Linked DNA regions of Homo sapiens: regions 2 and 3 are each linked to region 1. The links are contacts of gene promoters, found by promoter capture Hi-C in human tissues and cell types (Jung and others, 2019). All regions are on one chromosome and are shown on one strand. The core of a region is centred on a gene start or on the middle of the fragment in contact, and the rest is flanking DNA. Distances in the headings are between cores, read along the strand shown.

What was found. Contacts are between HindIII fragments. The study calls those that stand out against the background at their distance.
Region 2: a fragment that was not itself captured here is called in contact with the fragment with the promoter of EPHX2 in region 1 in 1 of the 25 tissues and cell types used here (spleen).
Region 3: a fragment that was not itself captured here is called in contact with the fragment with the promoter of EPHX2 in region 1 in 1 of the 25 tissues and cell types used here (dorsolateral prefrontal cortex).

The regions. Positions count from the first base shown.
Region 1 is chr8:27,488,112-27,492,440 of GRCh38, forward strand. EPHX2 (epoxide hydrolase 2) reads left to right here and starts at 3,032. Exons shown (of 19, transcript NM_001979.6): 1 at 3,032-3,198. The coding sequence starts at 3,098. RefSeq lists a cis regulatory region at 775-1,089 and a silencer at 2,836-3,115. The HindIII fragment of the contact is 8,102 bases long and covers 1-3,422 here.
Region 2 is chr8:27,621,447-27,625,507 of GRCh38, forward strand. No RefSeq gene overlaps it. Among named protein-coding and RNA genes, the nearest start is that of CLU, 8.8 kb to the left of the region's middle. The HindIII fragment of the contact is 5,581 bases long and covers 1-4,061 here.
Region 3 is chr8:27,736,834-27,740,901 of GRCh38, forward strand. CCDC25 (coiled-coil domain containing 25) reads right to left here. Exons shown (of 9, transcript NM_018246.3): 8 at 3,639-3,684. Among named protein-coding and RNA genes, the nearest start is that of CCDC25, 34 kb to the right of the region's middle. The HindIII fragment of the contact is 4,304 bases long and covers 1-3,468 here.

The DNA.
Region 1 (4,329 bases), core at 1,782-4,281:
AGCAGCAGTGTAAAGTCCTCCCTCCCAACCCCTAGTGGTTAAACAGATTTTATAAAATAGGGTTTGACAATCAAGGACTAGCAGGAAGTTGCAGAAGGCACAGGAATGGCAGAAAACCCAAAATAAACCTTAATGAGGTCAGTGTACATTCATTATGAATTTAGTGATTGAAATCAGGTGTAATTTATAAATTTTCACTACTACATTAGCCATCTTTTATGATTCATGCTATCACCTAAAACATATTTCATAAATATTAAAATTAGAAGACATAGGGGTTAGGATTTACATTTCAAAAAGCCACCCAGTTCCCATAGCCCTGCTGGGTAAGCCCTTATCTCTCTGTACCTTAGTAGCAGAAAACACAGGAGAAGCACGACCATGAAAAAGGGCAAAGTGCAGTGAAATGCAATTGAGACCTTTAATCTTTGCCTAAGCAATTCAGCCAGAAAGCTCTGTAACTCACAAGGCATTATAAAAATATTCCACACCAGAGCTATTTACAAGTTAACTGCTCCTGAATAAATAAAAGTCCATGTGATAGCTTCATGGCTTTCTCTTAACCAAAGAGGAAAGTAAAACTCATATTTCTATGTTTTTAAATTTTTCTTCTCAAAAGGGGGCTTTATGAAATCTAGTTCTGTAGGTATGTCGTTCCTCTACACTTTACTGCTTGTATAAATATACTTACGTATTCATAAGCAATACTGTGCTAGATGCAGAATTCAGATGCAGGCAACAGAAATCACTGTAGTTATTTTAAATAGAAACAGAAGAAAGGGATTTAAGATGAGAGACTGCAAGCCTACACAATCTTTGAACGGAATGGAGGAGTGAGCTCCAGACTGAGCCTTTAGGAAGGACTCCCAGAAAACACCACCATAGAACTAGAAGCTGCTATCTCTGCCTCAATCAGCAGGCCACCGCTAGAAACACGAACATATGGTTTGGCTGGGAGCCAAGGATCTGGAAGCAACTCCGTGGTCTCGGGACTGAGCCACTGAGTCAATGGGGATGCCAGTTTGTAAGATAGGGAACACACTAGGAGGAACAGGCGTGGGAAGTAGAAATGCAGAGAGAGTTCTGTTTTAGCCATGATAAATTTGAGATGCCTGTTAGACACTCAAGAGAAGATGTTCAGTAAGAAGTTGGATATTGACGTTGAGTAAGATGTTGAGTAAGAAGTTGGCAAGTCTGGAGCCCAAAGGAAACTCTAAGTTGGAGATTTAATTTCTTTCTTTTTTTTTTTTGGAGGTAGAGTCTTGCTGTGTCACCCAGGCTGGATGGAGTGCAGTGGCACAATCATGGCTCACTGCAGCCTCCACTTCCTGGGCTAAAGTGATCGTCCCACCTCAGCCTCCTGAATAGCAGAGACTACTGGCATGCACCACCATGCCTAGCTAATATTTTATTTTTATTTTTTATAGAGAGAATGTCTTGCTTTGTTGCCCAGGCTTGTCTCAAACTCCTGGCCTCAAGCAATTCTCCCACCTCAGCCCCAAAGTGCTGGGATTACAGGTGTGTGCCACCATGCCCAATCTGGAGATTTAACAGGTTTCATACTATATAGGTCAGGCTGCAATTTTCTTTCTATTTTTTAAAATTCAATTATACCTTTGAGATCAACTAACTTCATGAGAAACTAGCTTGCTGTACTCCCTTCTCTGCCTATCTTTCAGTCTTCAAATCCAGAGTAATCCAGTTTCTACCATAAAGGGCCCACAAAAAGTGTTCTGAAACATCCGGTGTCATCCAAGTCCAAAATTGGACAGCTTTTTTTTCAGTTCTTCCTGTAACATTTGGCAGTGTTGGCCACTCTCTGCTTCTTTGGCAAGAATCTCAGAAAACACTAATAACTGCTCCAGGCAGGAGCCTGGAAGAGGTTACCAAGCTAGAGAAGGAAGCAACAGCATAGCTTGCTAAGGGCAAACAGCCCAGAGGAAACCCACGGCTCTGGTCAATCCTGTTGTTGATTGCTAGATCCAGAGACTGTTGTAGACCTCCCAGTTACAGTGAGGTATCTGACAACCCCTCACAAGGTTCTTGAAGCTCCGTGGTGGAGGGTATCTTGGATAAATCCACAGAGACACATTCAAGAGTAAATTCTCCACTGTTGGAGACCTCACTCACTCTGTTTGGTCTCCACCAAAGACACGGTTTTTAATTCATGGAGCTGCACTACAACAGCTCAAGAACTCCCAGCCAAAGTTTTAGTTTTTCTAGGAACATAAACGAGCCAATAGTGTGGAAATCGGTGATTAAAAACAAACCTCGCACATTTTAAGACAGAATTATTACAAGTAGCATGTACAAAAGGAAAATAATAGCCTACATTTAGTTCTTCTAAGCTTCATTCCACAAGAGATTGAAATCGAAGTATTCTGGGCTGGCACACGATAGCTGGAACATCATATTTTATTCTAGAAACACATTTGCCTTGGCAAAGAAGAGCGTGCCTAGAGGAGTGGTCAGGATAGTGAGGGATCTGTGATCCTTCGTTCTGAATCTAGAAAAGTCACTGGATATGCCCCTCCCCCGCCCCCCAACACGGTCTTATGTTCTGAATGTAGAAGTCACTGGATGTGCTGACACACACACACACACACACACACACACACACACACACACACACACACACACACAGAGTCTGTGGCCTCTTTCCCAGGCATTCCAAGTCCAGCAAGTTCGCAGGGAGCTGTCAGTCCGTCCAGGAAGGCCCGGGCCTGGGTTTGCCTCTTCAAGCAGCTACTGCAGGGGCGTGGGGAGGGGGCATAAGAGACTTTGGACTTTCCTTTGAGACAGTAGAAAGCGTTACATCCAGAGGCGAGATTCTAGCCTGGGGTCCCCGCCTTCCCGGCCTCCTCTTCCTCTCCCTCTGACTCCCTTTCCTGTGCCCCTCCCCCTGCCTCTTTCCCGGCCAGAGTCCAGCCTTAACCCGGGCAGAGGGCGGAGTCCCGTTAAGGGGGTGTGGGGAGGAGGCGGGGCCAGGGCAGGGGCGGGGCAGAGCCGGGCCAAGCTGGGCGGGTCATGCGCCCTGGCCTTCGCGCATCTCCCAGGTTAGCTGCGTGTCCGGGTGCTAGGCTGCAGACCCGCCGCCATGACGCTGCGCGCGGCCGTCTTCGACCTTGACGGGGTGCTGGCGCTGCCAGCGGTGTTCGGCGTCCTCGGCCGCACGGAGGAGGCCCTGGCGCTGCCCAGGTAAGGGGGCCCAGCGCCGCCGCCGCAGTGGGTCGGGGCCTCAGGAGGCAGACCGCGCTGGGCTTGCAGCCCAGCTTTCAGATTGCTCCTGTGCCGGAGCCCTGCGAATCATGCGAATCATGAAACTGAAGACCTGGCCCTGAAGTCCCAGTGCATATGAGGAGATCCGTTGTCTTTCTAAATGTTCATAATTAAACGTTGCCAAGGTCTCCAAAATTGCTTTCTGTGAACTTTTCCAAAAGGGAGAGGAGTTACTCATGGAGCTTTGTGCTTCTGCTGCCTCCTGTCTAATGGGGTGGCGCTTAAAGATGCGAGCCGAGATTCAGGAGAGAAGAAAGTTCTCTCCCCAGGTGTGGGTTGCATGCTTACTTGTGTAATAGCAAACTGCAGCAACCGCCCAAAGCCACATCACTGGGAAATGGTAGATGGGGTGTGCAGAGTGAGAGCTCAGGGACTTGGGAAAACACCTGTTCTACTACATGAAAAAACCACCCCACCAGAATCTGAAGCTATTTATACAATATGGTTTCAGCTATGGAAAAAAGGTACATGCAGAAAAGTGCCTGAAAGAAATAGGCCAAAGTACATCAAATGAGATTAGGAATAATGTAATGATTTTCTTTCTCTCTCTCTTTTTTTTGTGTTTTTTTTTTTTGTAGTTTCCAACTTCTAAATTTATAAACAATGTATTATTCCCACATTCAGAAAGGAGAGAAGTATACTTATTTATAAAGTGAAAAAGAAGGCCAGGCATGGAAGCCATTGTTCATATCCTCCTTTTACATATGAGGAAACTGAGGCACAGAAAGAAACCAGCTGTCCAAATCACATAGCTGTTAAAGAGCAGAGCCAGAAATCCAACCCCAGTAGTCCATGTCCGGAGCCTTTGCTTTTAATATAGTAAGGAAGATGAGATGGCAAGTAGCTTGAGGGAAAGGCATGTAATCTCTGTGCTTTGGGAAGCTAAGGTGGGAGGATCACTTGAGGCTGAGAGTTCAAGACCAGCCTGGGTGAAAGAGCAAGACCCTGTCTCTCCAAAAATAAAAATAAAATTAGCTAGACATTAGTGCATGCATGTAGCCCCAGCTACTTGGGAGGCTAAGGCAGAAGGATTGCCTGAGCCCAGGAGTT
Region 2 (4,061 bases), core at 742-3,241, 130 kb after region 1:
GAGAATGTCCATTACCATATGATCATCGGGCTGGTGTTGATCCTTTGAATTTTTGCCAATCTTGTGGGTGAAAAATGACATTTTTACCACCTTAATCTCTTTGTATATTTTTTGTTTTCAACTATTTATTTTTAAATAAAATTTCCCCTCTGTCACTTGTCTATCCATATTGTTTGCTCATTTTATCAAGTTATTCATCTTTTTTTCTATCAATTTATAGGTGCTCTTTAAATAGAGAAAGTGACCCTTTGTGTGTTGTCAGTTTTTTTCCAACCAGATTATCATTTTTTTATCTTTGATTACCAAGGACTTTTTGAAGTTTTTATGCAAGTGATTTTTGTTTATCTTTTTCTTTATAGTTTCTAAATCTCATGTCTTGTTTCAGAATGTCTTCCTCTGGCTAGAAGACAGATAGCTATTCTAATTTTCTTCTAACTTTCTATTGTGTCAATTTCTTATTAGATAGGTAATCAAGATGGAATTGATATGTTTATGGTGTATGTGTGTATGACTGTGTGTATGCGTGTGTAAGAGAAGGATGACGTAGGATCTAATTTCATTTTCTTCCAGATGTATAGCCAATTATGTCAACACAATATATCAAATAAATCACCCTAATCACACTGAGTTGAAATACCATTTTTTCACATATAAATTTCCCCAAATAAACTTGGATCTGTATCAGGACTTTCTAGTTTATTCCTCTGATTCCTCTCTTCATGCATAATATACTGTTTTAATAACATAGCTTTAAAAAATATTATTTTATTTATTTATTTTTGAGACAGGGTCTCACTCTGTCACCCAGGCTGGAGTGCAGTGTCATGATCATGGCTCACTGCAGCTTCGACCTCCCTAGCTCAAGCAATCCTCCCATCTCAGCCTCCCAAATAGCTGAGACTATAGGTGCACGCCATCATGCCCAGTTAATTAAAAAAATATATTTTTTTAGAGACAGGATGTCAGTATGTTACCAGGCTGGTCTTGAACTGGCTCAAGAGATCCTCCCTCCTCAGGCTCCCAAAGTGCTGGGATTACAGGCATGAGCCACCACTCCCAGCCGTAACTACATAGCTTAAAAACAATATTTAATATTGAGAAAGTAATCTTCTTCACTCTTCCTTTTCAAATTTTCTTGACTTTTCTTGGACATTAATTCTTCTAGATAAACTTTAAATTAATTTTGCCCCATTGAAAAAACATGGCATTAGGCCTGGTGCATTGGCTCATGCCTGTAATCACAGCAATCTGGGAGGCTGAGGCAAGAGGATCACTTGAGATCAGGAGTTCAAGACCAGCCTGGGCAACATAGCGATAACCCCATCTCTACAAAAAATAAATTAAAAAAAATGAGCCGGGCATGGTGATGTATGCCTGTGGTCCTAGCTAGTTAAGAAGCTGAGGCAGGAGGATTTCTTGACCCCAGGAATTTAAGCCTGCAGTGAGCTATTACAGCACCACTGCACTCCAGCCTGGGCAACAGAGTGCGACACTGTCTCTAAAAAGAAAAAAATAATTAAAAGAAAAAAGAAAAAACATGGCACTGCAATTATAATTGCTTTAAATTTACATATTAGTTTTAGAAGAATTCACATTTCTATTCTTTCTTCCTGTGTAGGACAATAACATATGTCTAGAGTTAATTCAAACTATTATTTTTATTTGTAAATGCATTTTTATACAAATTAAAAATATCAGCTCCTACCCTCAATTCAGTAAAACCATTATTATTGAATATTAAAATATATATTTTTTCATTGTGGTATGGCGTGTAACTCTTATATAGTTTTAAAAAATAAAATGAAAGACTTCAAAGATATGTTTGCTACTTCTTTTCCATCATCATGGCAATGGAAAAATTAAAGAAATCCTGATTAAGCATTTTATATTGAAATTTATCAGATGATTGTTCACACCTTTTTCTGTCATTCAGCATTCAGCTCCTGTCTTAGTCTGTTTTTTGTTGCTTATAATAGAATATAGCAAACTGGGTAATAAATAAAGAATGAGAATTTATTTTTTACAATTATGGAAGAGGAGAAGTCCAAGGTTGAGGGGCTGCATCTGGTGAGGGCCTTCTTGCTGGTGGGGACTCTCTGCAGAGTCCCAAGGCAGTGCAGGGCATCACATGGTGAGGGGGCTGAGTGTGCCAGCTCAGGTTTCTCTTCCTCTTCTTATAAAGCCATCAGTCCCACTCCCATGATAACTCATTCATCCATTACCCCACTAATCCATTAATCCATGAATGGATTAATCCATTTATGAGAGCAGAGACCTCATGACCCAGTCACTTGGTAAAAGTCCCACCTCTCAACACTGCCACATTGAGGATTAAGTTTCAATGTGAATTCTGGAGGGGACAAATATTCAAACCATAGCACCTCCCATTCTTTAAGACACAGTTTAGCATGCAGTAGGTGCTTAATACATGCTTGTTAAATTACCTGAAATAACTTTTCCATTATTGCAATCTAAGATCCTATTTATTTTTGATTCATATCAAAGCTATACTATCCATGTGGATAGGAAACATATCTCTGGCTCATAGCACCTGGCTACACAATCAAAATACATTAATTTAATAAATGAACAAGAGCCATGCATGACCAAATATCAACTAGATCTTCTTCTCTGAATTACTAAGCTTCATCCTTTAGTGAAAATGATGTGACACTAAATGTGGGGTTTTAATTTATCTCTCTTGAATTTTATCTTATCAGTGCACTATAGCTCTCTGTCAGGATTGCTCTGAATTTTGTTCTTCCAGTTTTGAGTGAGAAACAAACAGGTAAGCTGGACTTCTGGGTCTCCATCCAGAGCATGGATAGAAATGTCCATCAGCACCCTTGTTATCATGTTAAAAGCCCAACCTGCTGCAGGGCTCCCATAAGGACATTTCTGTGTACCAAATGCTTTGGAGAATACCTTCCCCAAAGCAGTCCCATCCCTCCAGCTCTGATCCTCCTATTTTAATATGTCTAATTCCTCAACACCTGAAGACAGAGATGTTTCCAGTCCTACTTGCAGTAACCTAAAATTGCAGGACTTCCTGCAGGGATCCCTTTTCATTCTCCAGTGGATCATTCAATTAAAAGAAGCTTGCCCTTCTTACATATCCTCAAGCCTCTTTCTTTTTTCATCTATATCCAGCCCCGAATGAAGTCAGCCACTTTCATGCTGAATTTATAATTGATTCAGATGAAGAACCTAGGTAGTTTTTCTTTGCTAAGATGTTATTATATTAATCTGGAAGGGTTAAGCTCTGAAATATCTTTTGTATTAAGCTACTTTTCTCAGAACTGTATCCTTACAGAGTTCATGAAATAAGGTTCATGAACCTAATTAATGAGCCTAATTAATACCTAAGGTTCATAGGTATTAACTTGACCCTATTAAGCCCTCTTTGAAGATTTATCAGGCTACAAGAGGCCATGTTATATAGCATCACCCACTGGTTTAAGAGTGGTATTGCAATACACCTCTTGGCCATTATAATACTCAAAAATTCCAGTATTGGTAAATGTACAGTGAGGCAAGAATCCATAGACATGGGAGATACCATAGGGGAAGTTCTGGGAGGAAGTAAAAAAAGAAAGGAGACTCTTGAATTGTGAAAATATCACATAGTTCAGAGAATGGCCTTTAAAAAATCAATTTAACACTTATCCGGAGAAGTCTTCAATTGAGTATGTTGAAGGACTTTTTTTTTTTTTCAGGGCATTCTATTTCTTATTGTAAATTGAAGTCAATATTAGAACTAAACTGAAGTTTTCACTTTATAGCCAACTTTGCTGGAACACAGTTATGACATTCCCTTGACTAGTCCTCTGTGTCCTCTCAAAAATATTTTGCTCTTTAACTTCCAAAGGATTGATTTTTGTGGGAGAAACCAAGGCAGCAACACTGCATGAAGCTCCAATTCATGACATTAGAAAGTTCATTAGGGAGAAAAGGTAAAAATTCTGCAGAGGTCTGGGTTGGAGAGGGGTTCGTTAATGAGTTACTGTTCACCAACATCTTTGTTTCCCTTTTCTTCATGGTAACAGAGATAAGGGATTTTT
Region 3 (4,068 bases), core at 67-2,566, 250 kb after region 1:
GGACTGATTTTATTGTGTGGCTTACAAGCAAGTCCTGAAGGCCACACACAAAGGTAGAGCCCTGACTCCTTTTTGGACAACATTCACTAAGAGTGTGCATTCTGATTTGCTTGCCAATGTCACAATCTGAACACTACAGTTGTTTTATCTTTTTTCTCTTTCCCATTGCTTAACACCAGCATTGTTAGAGAAAGGGATCAGACTAAGGCTTATCTAAATGGCCCTTATTAAAGATGGTAGAGAAATACGATATGGGTAGAAAACATTGGTTCCTGTGAAGTCTGGTTTTAGCTCCAACTTCACTTAGTGGTTTTCTCTGTGGTTCTCTTCCATTAGCACGATGAACTGAAGCCAAGGTAAAAATGCCTTCGATAATTGTACAAAGAACAGACTAATGATTGTGTTATATCCAGGCGCAAAGACTATGATTGCCCCAGAGTCTTAATCTGAAATAAAAGCAGTAGCAATGTTTGAAAGAGTCATTTAGTATCTTCAAATGCCAGCTTTAGATCCCAAACACTGAGGATGAACAACTCAGTAAGACAGTCTGGGTTGTCATCAACGAAAGTAAGCCATTCCCTATAAAGGCTGTGAGTTAGATGTGCAGAGTCCCCACTTGTCTGGGGCTATGTTTTGGAATTACAGTAATTATTCTTCTTGATGAACCTGTATATGCTAAATTAAAACTTAAGTCCTATATTACATAAACACTTGCCTTTAACTTAAAAATCAACTGATCACGTTCTAAATTGGATCATAAAACATCTGTATCACTTACACTTCTTCACTGCTGGTGGGAATGTAAACTAGTACAGCCACTATGGAAAACAGCAAGGAGATTTCTTAAAGAACTGAAGTAGAACTACCATTTGATCCAGCAATCCCACTACTGGGTATCTACCCAGAGGAAAAGAAGTCATTATTCAAAAAAGATACTTGCACACACATGTTTACAGTGGCACAATTCACAATTGCAAAATTGTGGAACAAACCCAAATGCCCATCAATCAACGAGTGGATAAAGAAACTGTGGTGTGTGTATACACACACTCACACACACACACACACACACACACACACAAAGGAATACTATGCAGCTATAAAAAGGAATATATTAACAGCATTTGCAGTGACCTGGATGAGACTGGAGACTATTATTCTAAGTGAAGTAACTCAGGAATGGAAAACCAAACATTGTATGTTATCACTGATATGTGGGAGCTAAGCTATGAGGATGCAAAGGCGTAAGAATGATACGATGGACTTTGGGGACTTAGGGGGAAGAGTGGGAGGGGGGTGAGGGATAAAAGACTACAAATATGGTGCAGTGTTTACTGCTTGGGTGACGGATGCACCAAAATCTCACAAATTACCTCTAAAGAACTTACTCATGTAGCCAAATACCATCTGTACCCCAATAACTTATGGAAACAAAACAAAACAAAACAAAACACAAACATCTGTATCCCTTAACAGAAGACGGTTACAAGGAGAATTAGTCTATTCTTTTAAAGTATGGAGAAAAACTAGGAAAACATTTTCACTGAAAGAGAGAATAAAAACACCCAGTGCAAAACTTCCTTGGAATCTTGAACTTGATTCATACTTGGAGCTCAGGAACAGGGGTTGCAAGCAACAGAGGGAGAGTTAGGGTAGAAAGATTAGCAATCTTTTGGGCTACAAATTCAATTTCCTAGTCTCGGGACTTTTAACATCTGTCACTGATCAGATGGTGTTTGTATATGTATGTATGTAGGTCGGTAGGTAGGTGTGTGTGTGTGTGTGTGTGTGTATTTGTTTATTTCTCAACTCTAGAATTATATACAAGCTTTAAAAATCCAAAATGATGAGAATAAAATGACTAAGGTCATGAAATAATATGGGGGCTAGATTTCTGGTGGAAAGTGCCTCTAAAACACAGAAAACTTCAATAAGCAAAATAACCACAACAATGGCATCTGAGTTGTGGTATGTTGAAGACTACTGTTTAGTGTTAAACTGTTCCAATAGTTTCAAGAAATCTAAAATTAGCTTCCAGAAAGGATTAAACACATCTCATCTTTTCATAATGATATTCTGGAAAAACAGCAACCAAAGACTATCTGGATAAGGTATGACTATTTACAAAGTAGGTCAAGGAAGACTTTCACATCGATGTGTCTTTGCTTCAATTCTAAGCAGCCCTGTGAAATAATATGTGTCCATTTTACTGATGATGAATACTCCCTCAGAGAGGTTAAATGACTTTATTAGGATCTAACCCAACCACTGTGACAACGTTCCCTTGCCCAAGGGATGTTTAATCCCCCCCACCTCAATTAGCACATGACAGTTAAGTCTCTAAACTTCAAATTCAAAGCTCTATTTAATTTAATAATGCTATTCTGGAATTTTTCAGGAATAAATTATAAAGAAACATCTCTGATTCATAAAGGAGCCTCGTACATTTAGTTCTTCATAGAGATGGGAATAAGAATGTTGTTCTTACAAATTTTTAGAAGAATATGTAGATATAAACAAGATGTAAAATCCTATTACTTCTAATTCATGCACTAAATCTGAGGTTTGACTAGATGACTTGTAAGGGATCTTAAATTCTGTTACAGTTGGCCCTTGATTTCTTTATCTGTGAATTCAACCAACCTCAGCTCAAAAATATTTAGAGGAAAAAAACAATTAAAAAAATACAATAAAAATAATATAAATTAAAAAAATACAGTATAACAACTATTTACATAGCATTTACACTAATTAGGTATTATAAGTAATCTAGAGATAAAGTATATGGAAGGATGTGCATATGTTATATGCAAATACTACTCCATTTTACACAAGGGACTCAAGCATCCTAGGATTTTGGTAGCTTCGGGGAGTCCTGGAACCAATCCCCCATGAATACTGAAGGATGACTATATTTTTAAACTATACTATAAAACATGCAAAATCCCAAATACATCCACCCAGTTTCCATTTTCTGCAGACTGCTCAATAGCAGCTAAATTGTGCTATCTCTAGACACTTCAAGATAAATTTTGGGAAAGACAGCCCTCAAGGACAATAATTCTCTGACATAGTTCCAATCAAATAATTAGACGCAATGTTAAGAAGATCCTTTCAGTACTATGTCATAGGTCACCATCTGTTTCTATCCCAGGTCCTAAGGAACATGAAAACAAACAATTTTGTCACTTAGGCTTCACTGAGTCACATAAGATCTTAGGGTAAGTTATTTTAATTGAAGGTGATAATTTTGTTCTCATTCAATTATAATATGGACTCTACAGTCACAGTGATAAAGAACACTAATAAATAAAGGCACTTTTGCATGCCTGCAACCAGAAAAGAGGGGAAATAAAGAATAAAGTCCTGTAAATATAAAATGAATAGACCTGTACGCCACAGTAGACAAGCTCTGACAATCTCTTTCCCTGAGATGACCTACTTAACAACACAAATGAGAAAGTCCACAGGGAAGGAGGTGCAGTGCCTAAAAGAATCCAGCCTGAGTGGTGTCCTGGTTGCCAAATCATGGTTAGCTATTTGCAACATGTAAGGCAATAATGGCCAGTAACACAATTATTAAAAACCCTTAGTGAATTATTTCAAGGCAAACATTCATGCAAACCACTTGAACATACCTGATTTGAAGACATATTTTCAACTTTCATTAGTGATGAATAGCTCCTAGAAGGAAAAAAACACACACACACATTTAAAATATGGTGATCCAGTCAACAAATATTTGATGAACATTTCCTGTGTATCCAGCACTGCTCAGGGGCTTTAGAAGAAACACAAGAGCTATTAGATATAATCTCTGCACTCAAGGAGATTGCAACATTCAAAGGATGAATATTTATAAACAATAAAAAAGATGTGCACAGCACTTTATAATTTACAAAGTGCTTTCTCCTACTTGTTTCATGTCACCACCTCCACAATAACTTGGCGAGACAGGTGGCATTATTCCTACTTTTCAGATGGGGAAATTCACCTACAGCCAAGATCTGATAAGATTCACAGCTGAGGTATACAGCTCAGATTGTAAACGCTACAGGAATTCAAAGG